Regions from separate parts of the Homo sapiens genome. Here regions 1, 3 and 4 are each linked to region 2. Evidence: promoter capture Hi-C in 16 types of primary human blood cells and fetal thymus (Javierre and others, 2016). All regions are on one chromosome and are shown on one strand. The core of a region is centred on a gene start or on the middle of the fragment in contact, and the rest is flanking DNA. Distances in the headings are between cores, read along the strand shown.

Evidence for each region. Contacts are between HindIII fragments. The CHiCAGO score rates a contact against its expected background, and 5 or more counts as called.
Region 1: the fragment with the promoter of CREM here is called in contact with the fragment with the promoter of NSUN6 in region 2 in 3 of 17 cell types (naive B cells, activated CD4 T cells and total CD4 T cells); the score reaches 6.8 in naive B cells.
Region 3: a contact is called between a fragment that was not itself captured here and the fragment with the promoter of NSUN6 in region 2, in 1 of 17 cell types (total B cells). The highest score is 5.7, in total B cells.
Region 4: the fragment with the promoter of IDI1 here is called in contact with the fragment with the promoter of NSUN6 in region 2 in 1 of 17 cell types (fetal thymus); the score reaches 5.8 in fetal thymus.

Annotation. Positions count from the first base shown.
Region 1 is chr10:35,125,287-35,128,217 of GRCh38, reverse strand. CREM (cAMP responsive element modulator) reads right to left here and starts at 1,372. Exons shown (of 8, transcript NM_183011.2): 1 at 1,025-1,372. It also overlaps a transcript of CUL2 not described here. RefSeq lists an enhancer at 335-404 and silencers at 765-904, 965-1,484. The HindIII fragment of the contact is 8,974 bases long and covers 1-1,885 here.
Region 2 is chr10:18,650,075-18,652,875 of GRCh38, reverse strand. It overlaps NSUN6 (NOP2/Sun RNA methyltransferase 6), which reads left to right and starts at 1,289. Exons shown (of 11, transcript NM_182543.5): 1 at 1,289-1,747. The coding sequence starts at 1,673. RefSeq lists an enhancer at 1,050-1,149. The HindIII fragment of the contact is 3,002 bases long and covers 1-1,911 here.
Region 3 is chr10:7,808,750-7,811,654 of GRCh38, reverse strand. All of the region lies in intron 1 of LOC105376392 (a long non-coding RNA gene), which reads left to right. Among named protein-coding and RNA genes, the nearest start is that of TAF3, 8.3 kb to the left of the region's middle. The HindIII fragment of the contact is 545 bases long and covers 1,177-1,721 here.
Region 4 is chr10:1,047,808-1,050,670 of GRCh38, reverse strand. IDI1 (isopentenyl-diphosphate delta isomerase 1) reads left to right here and starts at 1,552. Exons shown (of 5, transcript NM_004508.4): 1 at 1,552-1,807. The coding sequence starts at 1,668. RefSeq lists enhancers at 904-1,043, 715-1,244, 1,504-1,553, 1,245-1,774, 1,775-2,305 and silencers at 1,644-1,863, 1,874-1,963. The HindIII fragment of the contact is 1,083 bases long and covers 537-1,619 here.

The sequences.
Region 1 (2,931 bases), core at 123-2,622, about 16 Mb before region 2:
ATGCAGGAAACCCCTAAGTGATTTCAAACTCAGGTATCTGATATACAAATAAAACGCAACAGGATCAAGAAACATGCTGAGGCCAGGCGCGGCGGCTCACGCCTGTAATCCCAGCACTTTGGGAGGCCGAGGTGGGTGGAAGGTCAGGAGTTCGAGACCAGCCTGACCAACATGGTAAAACCCCATCTCTACTAAAAATACAAAAATTAGCAGGCGTGGTGGCGCATGCCTGTAATCCCAGCTACTCGGGAGGCTGAGGCAAGAGAATCGCTTGAACCCAGGAGGCAGAGGCTGCAGTGAGCCGAGATCATGCCCCTGCATTCCAGCCTGGGTAACAGCAAGACTCCGTCTCAAAAAAAAAAAGTATGTTTAATAATGTGTTTATTCCCCAGATTCAACAGGCTCTGGAAACCTTACCAGATGGCCCTAAAAAGGCAAGACTCAGGCAGAAGGGAAAATGCGCCTTCCGAGAGCGGTCGCGGCTCTGCCCTTCCCACTCCGGAGACTGCCCGCGCCCGGGACCGAATGACTCAGCTGCGAGGCCCTCCGGCCCAGGTTTTGGGGGAAAACGGGCTGCGTCCGCTTTCGTCTAAACTGCGCTCGTAAAGTGGGGCAGAGGCGCTGGGGGCACTCAAATCCGAGGTCCTTACTTCTGGATTCCTTTTCCTTTTCCGAGTTAAACCGCTCCCCTGAGCCGCACGGCTCTCTCAGGGAGGATTTTCCAACTCGTCCCAAGTTCGCGAGGAGGCAGGCGGGTCCCGGGGCAGCTGAGCGCACGAAGCGGGCGTGGGGCGGCGAGCCGGCGGCCTCGGGGGCGCCGAGCGAGGGGCCGCGTCAGGTGAACTCGCGGCTGCCCCGCCAGTCCTTGGCCCGGCCCCGGGGTCCCGGCCCGCCGCCCACGGCTCCGCTCGGCCTCTGCTGCTCCACCGCACCCGGCTCCGCTCCGCCTCCTGCCTCCACCTCCACCTCCTGCGCCGCGTCGCCCGCTGCTGGGTCTCGGGGCCGGAGCCGACGCACCACTTACCCGCCGCAAAGGGATTTACGTAGCGGACCTCGTCACTGATTACGGACGCGAGGAGGTGGAGACGGCGAGCCCGACCGCCGCTCAGCAGCGGCGCCGCCGCCCAGCAACCCGGAGCCGGCAGCGGCCCCACGTAGTCCTCACGTCAGCTGTGATGCGGTAGCCGCGGCCTCCCTGCCGACCCCGGACCAAAAGTAGCGCTGCAGCCGACCGAACCGCGTCCTCCCGCCCCGTCCTCCCCTCCCCCACGCCGGGACGGCCTCCCGGGGGAGGCCCCGAGGAAAAAAATCCAGGCTCGAACTCCGCCCCCTGCCGGCCGCCAGCAGGAGTGAAGCGCCACAATCCAACAATGAAATGGAACCGGGGAGGGGCGGCGGGAAGGTGCGGGTCAGGGGGCGGGGCCTAGGGATAGGGAGAAGGAAGGTCAGGGGGCGGGGCCAAGAGGAGGAACTAGCCTGGAGGTGGGGCGGAAGGTAGGGGCGGGGGCAAGGCTGGAAACCGGAAGCTGCCCGTGCCGCGCCGCGCGTGCGCCAGAAATCCAATGACTTGTCAGCCAGAGTAACGGCTGTTGTCAGGTCTTCAGGGTCTCGAGGTCGGTTTCTTCCTAACGCCGCCAACCCCAAGCTAAGGTCCGCGAGCGTCTCACCTCTGTCCAGGCTGGGCTGCAGTGGCGTGGTCTCGGCTCTCTGCAACCTCTATCTCCCCAGGCTCAAGCGATCCTCCGGCCTCAGCCTCCTGAGTAGCTGGGACTGCAGGCGTGCTTCTTCTGACTTCTAAAAGCTATCTACATACCTTGACTAGTGGCCCTTTTCCTCCATATTCACAGCCAGTCACAGCTGGTTGAGTCCTTCTCCAAAAGAAGCTTGAGCTCCTGAGACAATTCACCTGCTTCTTAGGGTCATTTATTGCAGTTTATCCCAGTATTTGACTGGAAATGGTCCGCATGCTGGGCCCGCTGGCTCGGGCCTGTAATCCCAACACTTCGGGAGGCCAAGGTGGGAGGATCGCTTGAGCCCAGGAGACCAGCCTAGGGAACACAGTGAGACTTCATCTCTTTTTTTTTTTTTAGATTAGAAAGGTCGGCCGGGGGCTCACGCCTGTAATCCCAGCATTTTGGGAGGCAGACATGGGCAGATCACCTGAGGTCAGGAGCAGCCTGGCCAACATGGTGAAACCCCATCTCTACTAAAAATACAAAAATTAGCTAGGAGTGGTGGCAGACGCCTGTAGTCCCAGCTAGTTGGGAGGCTGAGGCAGGAGAATCGCTTGAACCTGGGAGGTCAAGGCTGCAGTGAGCTGAGATCGTTCCACTGCACTCCAGTCTGGGTGACAGAGCGAGGCTCCATCTCAAAAATAAAAAAAGTAATGGGATATCAGGAATAAAGAATAGCAGCATGGTTATAGAGTACAGTAGGTCCTCACTTAACGATAGGTTCTTAGAAATCATGGCTTTAAGCCAAACAACTTACAGCAGGTCCACAAAAAAATTTTCATTCAGTGTTGTTTTCATTTCGTTATAATATTGATGATAACAAAAATCGGTTTCATTGTACGTTGTTTCACTGAAAACCAGTTTCTAAGAAGCTATTGACAATGTTAAGTGAGGATTTATTATTTCATATCAGTTACTGTAGTGTCAGAGTGTTTTCATAATTTTCACTGAGCAGGACTTAATCTAAATCCAATCTGAACCTTTGTTCAAATCTAATTTTCGTAGGTCAAAGGGAATGTATCCACAACAATTGTCTCTGTAACAGGAGTTCATATGAATCAAAAAGAATCAAAGGAATGGCAATTTCTTATTTGCAAAGTATTTGCTCTACGGTTTCCTTTCTTGCCAGTATTTTACTCCCATATGTATGTAGTCTTAATTATAAAGTTCAGAAAGCACAAACCATATTTTTTTGTTC
Region 2 (2,801 bases), core at 40-2,539:
TTAAAACAGAGAAAATGGGCTGGGCGTGGTGGCTCACGCCTGTAATCCCAGCACTTTGGGAGGCTAGAGAGTCAGATCAGTTGAAGTCAGGAGTTTGAGACCAGCCTGGCCAGCATGGTGAAACCCCGTCTCTATTAAAATTACAAAGATTAGCTGGGCCTGGTGGCACATGCCTGTAATTTTAGCTACTCGGGAGGCCAAGGCAGGAGAATCTCTTGAACCAGGAGGTGGAGGTTGCAGTGAGTCGAGATCCCACCATTCCACTCCAGTCTGGGCGACAGAGACTCAAAAAAAAAAAAAAAAAAAGAGCAGAGAAAATGATAAACAACTTGCAGGTTGTTGTGTGGTATAATGGTCATTCATTATTTTCTACTCTTTCTGGTAAAGAGTTGGTGTGTCATGGAAAGTACCTGTTCTATGTGTGTGTGTCTGTGTGTATAATTCGGTGTGAAAATTAAAGAGAAAAAAACAATAAAAAACCCTTTCCTATACTTATGTGTAAATTACCATGGTGTGCTGCAAAAAACATATGTCAAGGTGATAGAATTATTTTGACTTTCCTGTACAGTTATAAAATGACTCAGTGAGTTTGGTTAGATATCCTCGTTCTTTGAATCTATATCCTTGTCTGCTTATGATGAAAAAAAAGAAAAAAAAATAATGGCGAGGGTCTTCCAAACTCTAAAGAATATGTCAACTATGATACAAGTAGCAGTTAGCCTTATAACTAACTGTAAACACTGTCTGTGGGTTTTAAGTTTTACCTGAGCATTGGATATTAACAGACCATTAGCCCAACTTTCAAAAATATGAACCCTATGAACTTCACAACTGAAGTCAGATCTGTATGCCTGAGAGAGGTAAAATCATGTCATGAAATCAAACGGTGGCTGATGCGCCCAAATTCTGGCCTCATCCTCTAACTGGAGGACATCTGGCAGGACAGCAACTGGGCTGTGCCTTTTTTCAGTCCAGCAACATCTTCCACTCAACCCACGCCATTTGGCTGTTTCCCCATTGCCCCTGGCACCTAGCCCTCCGGTACCGGGAACTAAATATCTTTGACCATCCCGCCCGCGGGGTCTGCCTACTTAACCTGAGGCAGGTGAAAGAGCCTCACGCAGGGTTAGGAACCTCCGGGGGCGTGGCGTAGCGTAACGCAGTGTTGGGGAAACTTGCGGCTGTGGATTGGGGGACCGGAAAGGGAGGGGTGGGCCGCAGGCGCCGGACGTGACGTAAGCCGGAAGCGACTTTCCGCCGAGAAATAGGGGGCGCGTGTTTGGAAATTGATAGAAAAGATAAAGGGACCGAGCTGCTGTCAGCCTGGCTTACTGATCTGCGTCCGTTTCACCACGGATTCAGTTACTAAGCATTTTTTTCTTTTTTTGGTTCTTTGCAACGTGAGTGGCATTGGCTCAGTGATTTCCATGAGCATCTCTACCAGAAAACATTGCCTCGATGAGGTGTGGTGGAAGCCCGGCAGCCCCTTCTAATCGGCTAGGCTTGAGAAAGCGTGTACCTCTGCATTTCCGAAATTAACTCAGCGTGATCGGCAAGATTTTCCTCAGCATCTGGTGTCAAGACACTCGTCACTATTAATTCGGAAAGAAAAAAAAAAACAAAACACCGTTTTCCAGCATTTCTCTTGGTGGAGAACTAAACAACAGGAAAAATGTCTATTTTCCCTAAGATATCTTTGAGACCTGAGGTTGAAAACTATCTTAAGGAAGGCTTTATGAATAAGGAGGTAGGTCAAGTAAAGATGTTAGTTGATATTTTGCAAAAACTCAAATATTCGCACACTCGAGAGAAATAGAAATAAGTATAAAGGGAAATCTTGACAGCCGTCGTTCCTTACTACTTGTCTATCAAGTGTAAAAATACCAATATGTTTCTACAGGTATTAAAGCTTACTGAGATACGAAGTGAATAAGGTATATGTTTTAACATTTAGGAGTGGAAAAGAAGGGAAAAAAGGCATGTGCCTGTCAGGCATGGCACAAAGGGTTACAAGGATGAACAAGAAAAGGTCCCTGTCTTCAAGAACTCGAATCGAATTTTAAAAGAGCGCTGGCTCTGGCACTCAGGTGAAAAGGTTTCTGTAATTTGTTGAGTGCCTCTTAAATGCCAGCAGTTGTGCTAGGAGATTTGCATCTTTAATCTTCACAATCTTTTTTTTCTTAGAGGTTTTTCCTCTTTTAATAGACTTGAGCAGAAAACTGCTCAAGGAATTGTGTAACTGATCCAAGTTGACACAGCTATCAAGTAACTATTGAAATCTGGAGGGAAAGAGTTCAGGTGTAATGAACAAAGGTACAGCTTTTGAATCTCAGGCACATGATTTGCATTCTAGTGCTTTGTAAATTACGTGGCTTAACCTAGATTTTTCTCTTCTGTGAAAAATTGAGAATGGTTAAAAATATCTTGCCAGGTTGTTTTAGGATATTAAACGTAAGTGAATACAACTAGCATTGTTTTGGCATGTAAGTCCTCAAAAAATGTTAATTTTATTTGCTAAAGTCCTCAGTAAATGTTGATTATCTTTGATTGCAAAGCCTGTTGTCTATTCCATTTTACCATGCTGCCTCTAAGCAACTTTGTTTTTTTTCAAATCTTTAATTTTTTAGTCAAGTTAAAAATATTTTACCAGGTTGTTTTAGGATATTAAACGTAAATGAAAACAACTTGCATTGTTTTGGCATGTAAGTCTTCAAAAAATGTTAATTTTGTTTGCAATTGGCAGTGCCTGCCACAGAAGTCCTCAGTAAATGTTGATTGTCTTTTATTGCAAAGCCTGTCCT
Region 3 (2,905 bases), core at 200-2,699, about 11 Mb after region 2:
ATTCTCCTGCCTCAGCCTCCCAAAAAGCTGGGATTACAGGCATGCACCATCATGCCTGGTCACAGCTCACTGCAGCCTCGACCTCCCAGGTTCAAGCAATCTTTCTACCTCAGGCTCCTGAGTAGCTGGGACCACAGGCACATGTCACCATGCCTGGCTCATTTTTGTCTTTTTTGTAGAGATGGGTTTTGCTATGTGGCCGAGGCTAGTCTCAAACCGCTGGGCTCAAGCAATTTGCCCACCTCGGCCTCCCAAACTGCTGGGATTACAGGCATGAGCCACTACGCCTGGCAGCTTTTGTCTGCTTTTACAGTGTTCTCTTTTCATAGGATTCACCTCAGTGATTTCATCATTAGCTGTGTAAAGATGACTCCTTAATATAACACTTTATCTTGGATTGTTCCTGAGTGCTATACTAGCGTAGCTAACTGCATCTAATGACTAATGTCTGCTTGGATGTCCAATATATCACTCAAATGTAATTAATGTTTGAGGGATGTCCGAAACTAAAATCATTCCATTCTTTGCTGTATACTTTGCGGGGGTAGAGGCAGGATCTGTGTTCGTCTCATTCACTAGTAAATAGTACCTAGCAGTTAGTCATATTTCAGTAATGCCTTTTAGCACAATTCATCTTGCAATGATATAGAGAGTGGATTAGAGCACAACTCTGAATATATGAAAAACCACTGAGTGGTAGAATTTAGAAGGGTGAATTTCATGGCATGTGGATGATGTCTCAGTGAAGCCACTCTTTGAAGAGAGTAACTAGAAGTGAACAGTGGAGGCCAGGAATCAGGAACCTGTTCAAGAGCAGGAGTGGCAGAAATGGAGAGCAGCTGCTTCTTTAGCAGTGAGACTGCACACAGCTTAGCGGGGCATGAGATCTGTAGAACGAAATTTCTTCCTGAGATCAGAGCTCAGACTCATCCAAGAGGCCTGATCCTTATCATTCTGTCTTGGTGGACAAGGAAAAGAACCAAGAGCAATGTGGGAAAGGCGAGTACTGGGGCGTAGCGGTCAATGCTGACGAGGGTTACAGTTGAGGACCAGTGAGCCCAACTTCAGCCAACGGCAGCACTTTTTCTTCAGTTGGTGCCAGGAGCTCAGTGACTGCACAGTTCTTAAGCTTCATTTAGAGAGTTTTGAATAATGATAATAAAATTTCTGAAAGCTTCAACTATTCTATATTAAAGCACACAGAGAAACAGTTTCCTAAAGGGCACATTATAGACAACAGTTGTAATGATGGAAACTCAATCCTAGAATATTAAAATTAACAGACCTAGCCCTTTAGGTACTGTGTAGGTGTTTGCAGAAAATAGGATAGCCAGGAGCAGTGGCTCACTCCTGTAATCCCAGCACTTCAGGAGGCCGAGCCAGGCAGATCACTGAGGCCAGGAGTTCGAGACCAGCCTGGGCAACATGGCAAAACCCTGTCTCTACTAAAAATACAAAAATCAGCCAGGCATGGTGTAGTCCCAGTTACTTGGGAGGCTGAGGTGGGAGGATGGCTTGAGCCCAGGAGGTGAAGTTTGCAGTAAGTCAAGATCCTGCCACTGCACTCCAGCCTGGGCGATAAGAGCCAGACCTCATCTCAAAAAAAAAAGCAGTTTGAATTATGTAATAAACCTTACCAGTGGTCATTTATCACTGTAATTCCACTGTGTTATGCCACTTAGCAAAAGGAGAGGACAGAAGTTGGGGGAAAATTTCAAGCTTACTCTTTGATTCCTTCCTACATGTCTAAACCACACAGCATGGTACACTCACCTTTCCAGATTTATCTTGCCTTTCTCGTTCTCTGTATTAGCAGTTTTCAGAATGTGCATTTGAACAGATTTTGGTCTTTGCTTTTTCTGCTTCCTTGGCCTGAAATGCCTTCCCTCCCCACCAGTTAGCTCTAGTAGTTTAATTTCTACTGTTGGTCACTGGTCCTTGAGGACTGTTTAGACCTCCCTTCCTCCAAGCTGGACGGCCTTCTCAGTCCCCTTCATCTGTCCCCAAATTGAGTCACTGTCCCTCTTGTGGCTCACCAATTGTAACTTACCACATTCTGTCATTTGCTTGTGTTCCCTCCAGACTGTAAGCTCCTGCAAGGAGGCGTTTTGTTATTGTATCCTCAGAGAGTCAGAGTGCCAGTACACAGAAGAGCACCACTAAAGGCTACAGGGAGCTGATGATTAATTTTACATAGAGCAGACATTTAACCAAGAATATAGCACTTACTCCCTGTCAGATTCTCGATATTTTAAAATATTAGCTCATTTAATCCTAACAATCTTTTAATCTCCATCTTATAGATCATAAAACTGAAAGATTAAGTAACTTGCCCAAGGTCACAGCTGTTAAGGGCTGAGCTAGTATTCCAGTTCAGACACAGATTATTCTTACTTATGTTGACTGATTTCAAATTCCTGCTTTTCCTCCTTCCATGATGTCTAGGACACTCAAATCACCCTCACAAATGTGTTCTGCTCTCCTAGAAACTGGAGGTGGGTCAAGCCAAGCTTAGAAGCAAAATACAAAACAGGATGGGCATGGTGGCTCACACCTGTAATTCCAGCACTTTGCAGGGCTAAGGAGGATCACTTGAGCCCAGGAGTTCAAGACCAGACTGGGCAAAATAGCAAGACCCCATCTCTAAAAAAAAAATTTTTTTTTAAATTAGCCAGGTATAGTGGCGTGCACACACACACACACACATACACACAGCCTCCAGAGGCACGTGGTTCGTTGCTAACATTCCCAAAAGGTATCTTGTACTGGTTCACACTACACCTCCATCTGATTCCTCAGTTGTGAGCTGTTTCTTTCTCCTAGTCTCAGCCACCAACCCCTTCAGAAGTGGCTCCTGAAAACTTTGAGGGGAGTTAGAAAATGACTTTGAAGCTCTGGTCAGTTC
Region 4 (2,863 bases), core at 303-2,802, about 18 Mb after region 2:
GGGCTGGTTCCCTCTTTGTGCCCTGAGCTACTGAAACAGGCTTCAGCTACACATGACCCAGAACTGGAATAATTAAGTAATAATTATCTTTTTATTCATCTTTCTTAAATGTATGTATAGCTCACATTTATTTCAATGTTTAATATTAGAATACTTTGGCCTTTAGAAGCTTAGTGATTTTTTTTTTCCTTGGCCAGAAGTATGCTTTAGGAACTTAATCCTTATTTTTTAGCCTCTGGTAAAATTGGTTTTGCTATACGTTGTTTCACTTAAAAGTCCTGATTCCCAAGAACGCACTGACAGCAGTGAGGACTTGCTGCGCATGCGGGAGGCCAGATTTTCTTATCTGTGTGAAGCCAGACATGAAAGAGATCTGTCAACACATAAAACAAAATCAAAGTCTGTTTTTTGTCTGGAAAAGATTTTTAATAAAAATATAACTTATGTTAGTGTCGTGTGTTTTTTAAGTGAATATTTTAATATGTTTAATTTCTATGTTAGTAAATAGCAGTAGTAAACAACAGTGAGCAAAAGCTTTTAGGTGTCCTCAGTACATTTTAAGAGAGTGCAAGCGTCCTGTGACCAAGAAGTTTGAGAACTGGTGCCCACCAGGTTCATCTCACAAGTTCAGTATTTTAAATTCCACACAAAAGGTAGAGGAAATAGCTGAATTCGCTTCAGCTGCGCATACATTTCACGATTATTTAAAAGTTTAGAGGGCTAGGCGCGGTGGCTCACACCCGGAATCTCAGCACTTCGGTAAGCTGAGCCAGGTGGATCACTTGAGGTCAGGAGTTCCAGACCAGCCTGACCAACATGCGGAAACCCGTCTCTACTAAAAATACGAAATAAGCCGGGCGTGGTGGCGCATGCCTGTAATTCCAGCTACTTGGGAGGCTGAGACGGGACAATTGCCTGAACCCGGGCGGCGGAGGTTGCTGTGAGCGGAGACTGCACCATTGCACTCAAGCCTGGGCAACAAGAATGAAACTGTCTCAAAAAAAAAAAATTTAGAACGTAGTCATGTACCTCGAAAGCGAACACTCCCAACATAGCGTGGAACACCCCACACCCCCGGCGACTTTGCTCCGCCTTGGTCCCGGTCGCAGACACCGCAGAAAGGCCATCGTTCTAGACATACGAGAACTCCCCGTGCAGCCAAACGCTGTAGTCCCAGCGGCGGAACTCGGGGGGGGGGAGGGGGGGGAGTGCCCAACCAGCCAGTCAGCAGTGACGTCCCGCCTTTCCTCCGTTTCCATTGGTCCAGCCATGCGGAGGTCGCTCCCATGGGACGCCGAGCTTCCGGCTGCAGGGCTTGGCGCCCGGGCGCTTTCGGATTGGGAGGGCTTCCTCCATGGAACGCGAGCCTCGAGACGTCTGACGTTAGGCACCGTTCGCAGCGCCTCGGGCTCGCACGGCAGGATCGAAAGCGTGATTGGCTGGCGGCGTCTGTGGTCTCGGGCACCGCCCAGTCGCGGGACGCTGCCTCTGCGGAACTGGGGGTGGGGCGTGTTGACCCCCTTAAAGGCGCCAGAGCCCGCGGTCACGGCTCAGGTTCCCGGTGCTTCGCGCGTCTGCCGTTGTCACAGGCCAGGGAGGTGGCACCACCAGGCGAAGCTTGGCGAGATTGTGTCGTCAAGCGCGTACGGGCGCCAATTGGCCGGGCGATGTGGCGTGGACTGGCGCTGGCGCGAGCGATTGGCTGCGCGGCCCGGGGGCGGGGCCAGTGGGCGGTGCGCGCCGCAGACTGTGCTCAAAGCGGGCGCCATCCGGGACCGGCGGTTGTCTGTGGCCGGAGGCTGATCAGGTACTGTGGACGGGCGGCGGAGTTCGGGAGACAGGGGCAGGGCGGCATCGGGGAGCTGCGGGACGGGGCGGGGAGGAGGCCCGAGGTCTGAGCCACCCGTGAGGTCTCGGCGCGGAGGCCTGGACAGCTGGGGGTGGCGGCGTTGGTCTCCCGAACTGGAGGGAGGCCGGGCCTTCCCGGGCTGTGGTGGGCGCCCGCGCCCCGTGGAAGGCGGAGGCGTGAGTCGGGGCGTCAGAGACGTTGCCATTCTTTGTCAGCGGAAAAGATCGTCGTCTGCGCACAGTCACCTGAGGTTTAGGAACTCGTGGAACTGGAAACCGAGTCGCAGGAGACTAAGAGTTGCGAGTCTCCCCTTAGAGAATTCAGAAACAAGCGTAGACAGCATCGTCAGAAACACGAGCGTGACGACACCGGCCTCCCCGTGCCGAGTCCACGCGTGTGACGCGGGTGCATACACCTGCGTCCGTGCAAGAGGGTGACAGCAACACACTCAAGGCGCTTCTCCTGGGAATGGAGCAGGAGAAGAGATGGGGAGCATCGCATAGATGGAACTAGACCTTTTTCTTGGGTTGGATGATGTGTTCCCGCGTCTACTACATGGTATTCTTTAAACGCATAAATAGACGTATTCATTTTATCTTGTGATTATGCAGCTTAGCTTTAAAATCTGAATTCTGAAAATCCTGAAAGAGCAATTGTCATTACAGCTGGGCGGTGGTGCACGCCTTTAATCCCAGCACTTTGGGAGGCGGAGTCGAAGGCTGCAGTGAGCCGAGATCGCGCCACTGCACTCCAGCTTGGGCGACAGACATAGCAAGACCCAGCCCCATCCCCCCGGAAAAAAAGTCATGTCAAAAAGTCTAGTAATTATGTAGTAACGAAACCTATCTTAGTGATCACCTAATATACAGTTGGCCTACTGTATCCTTGGGGTCCATATCCATGGATTTAACCAACTGCACATTATAAAATATTTGGAAAAAAATTTCATCTGTACTGAACATATACAGACTTATTCTGTAAACAATACAGCACAACTATTTATGTAGGATTTAC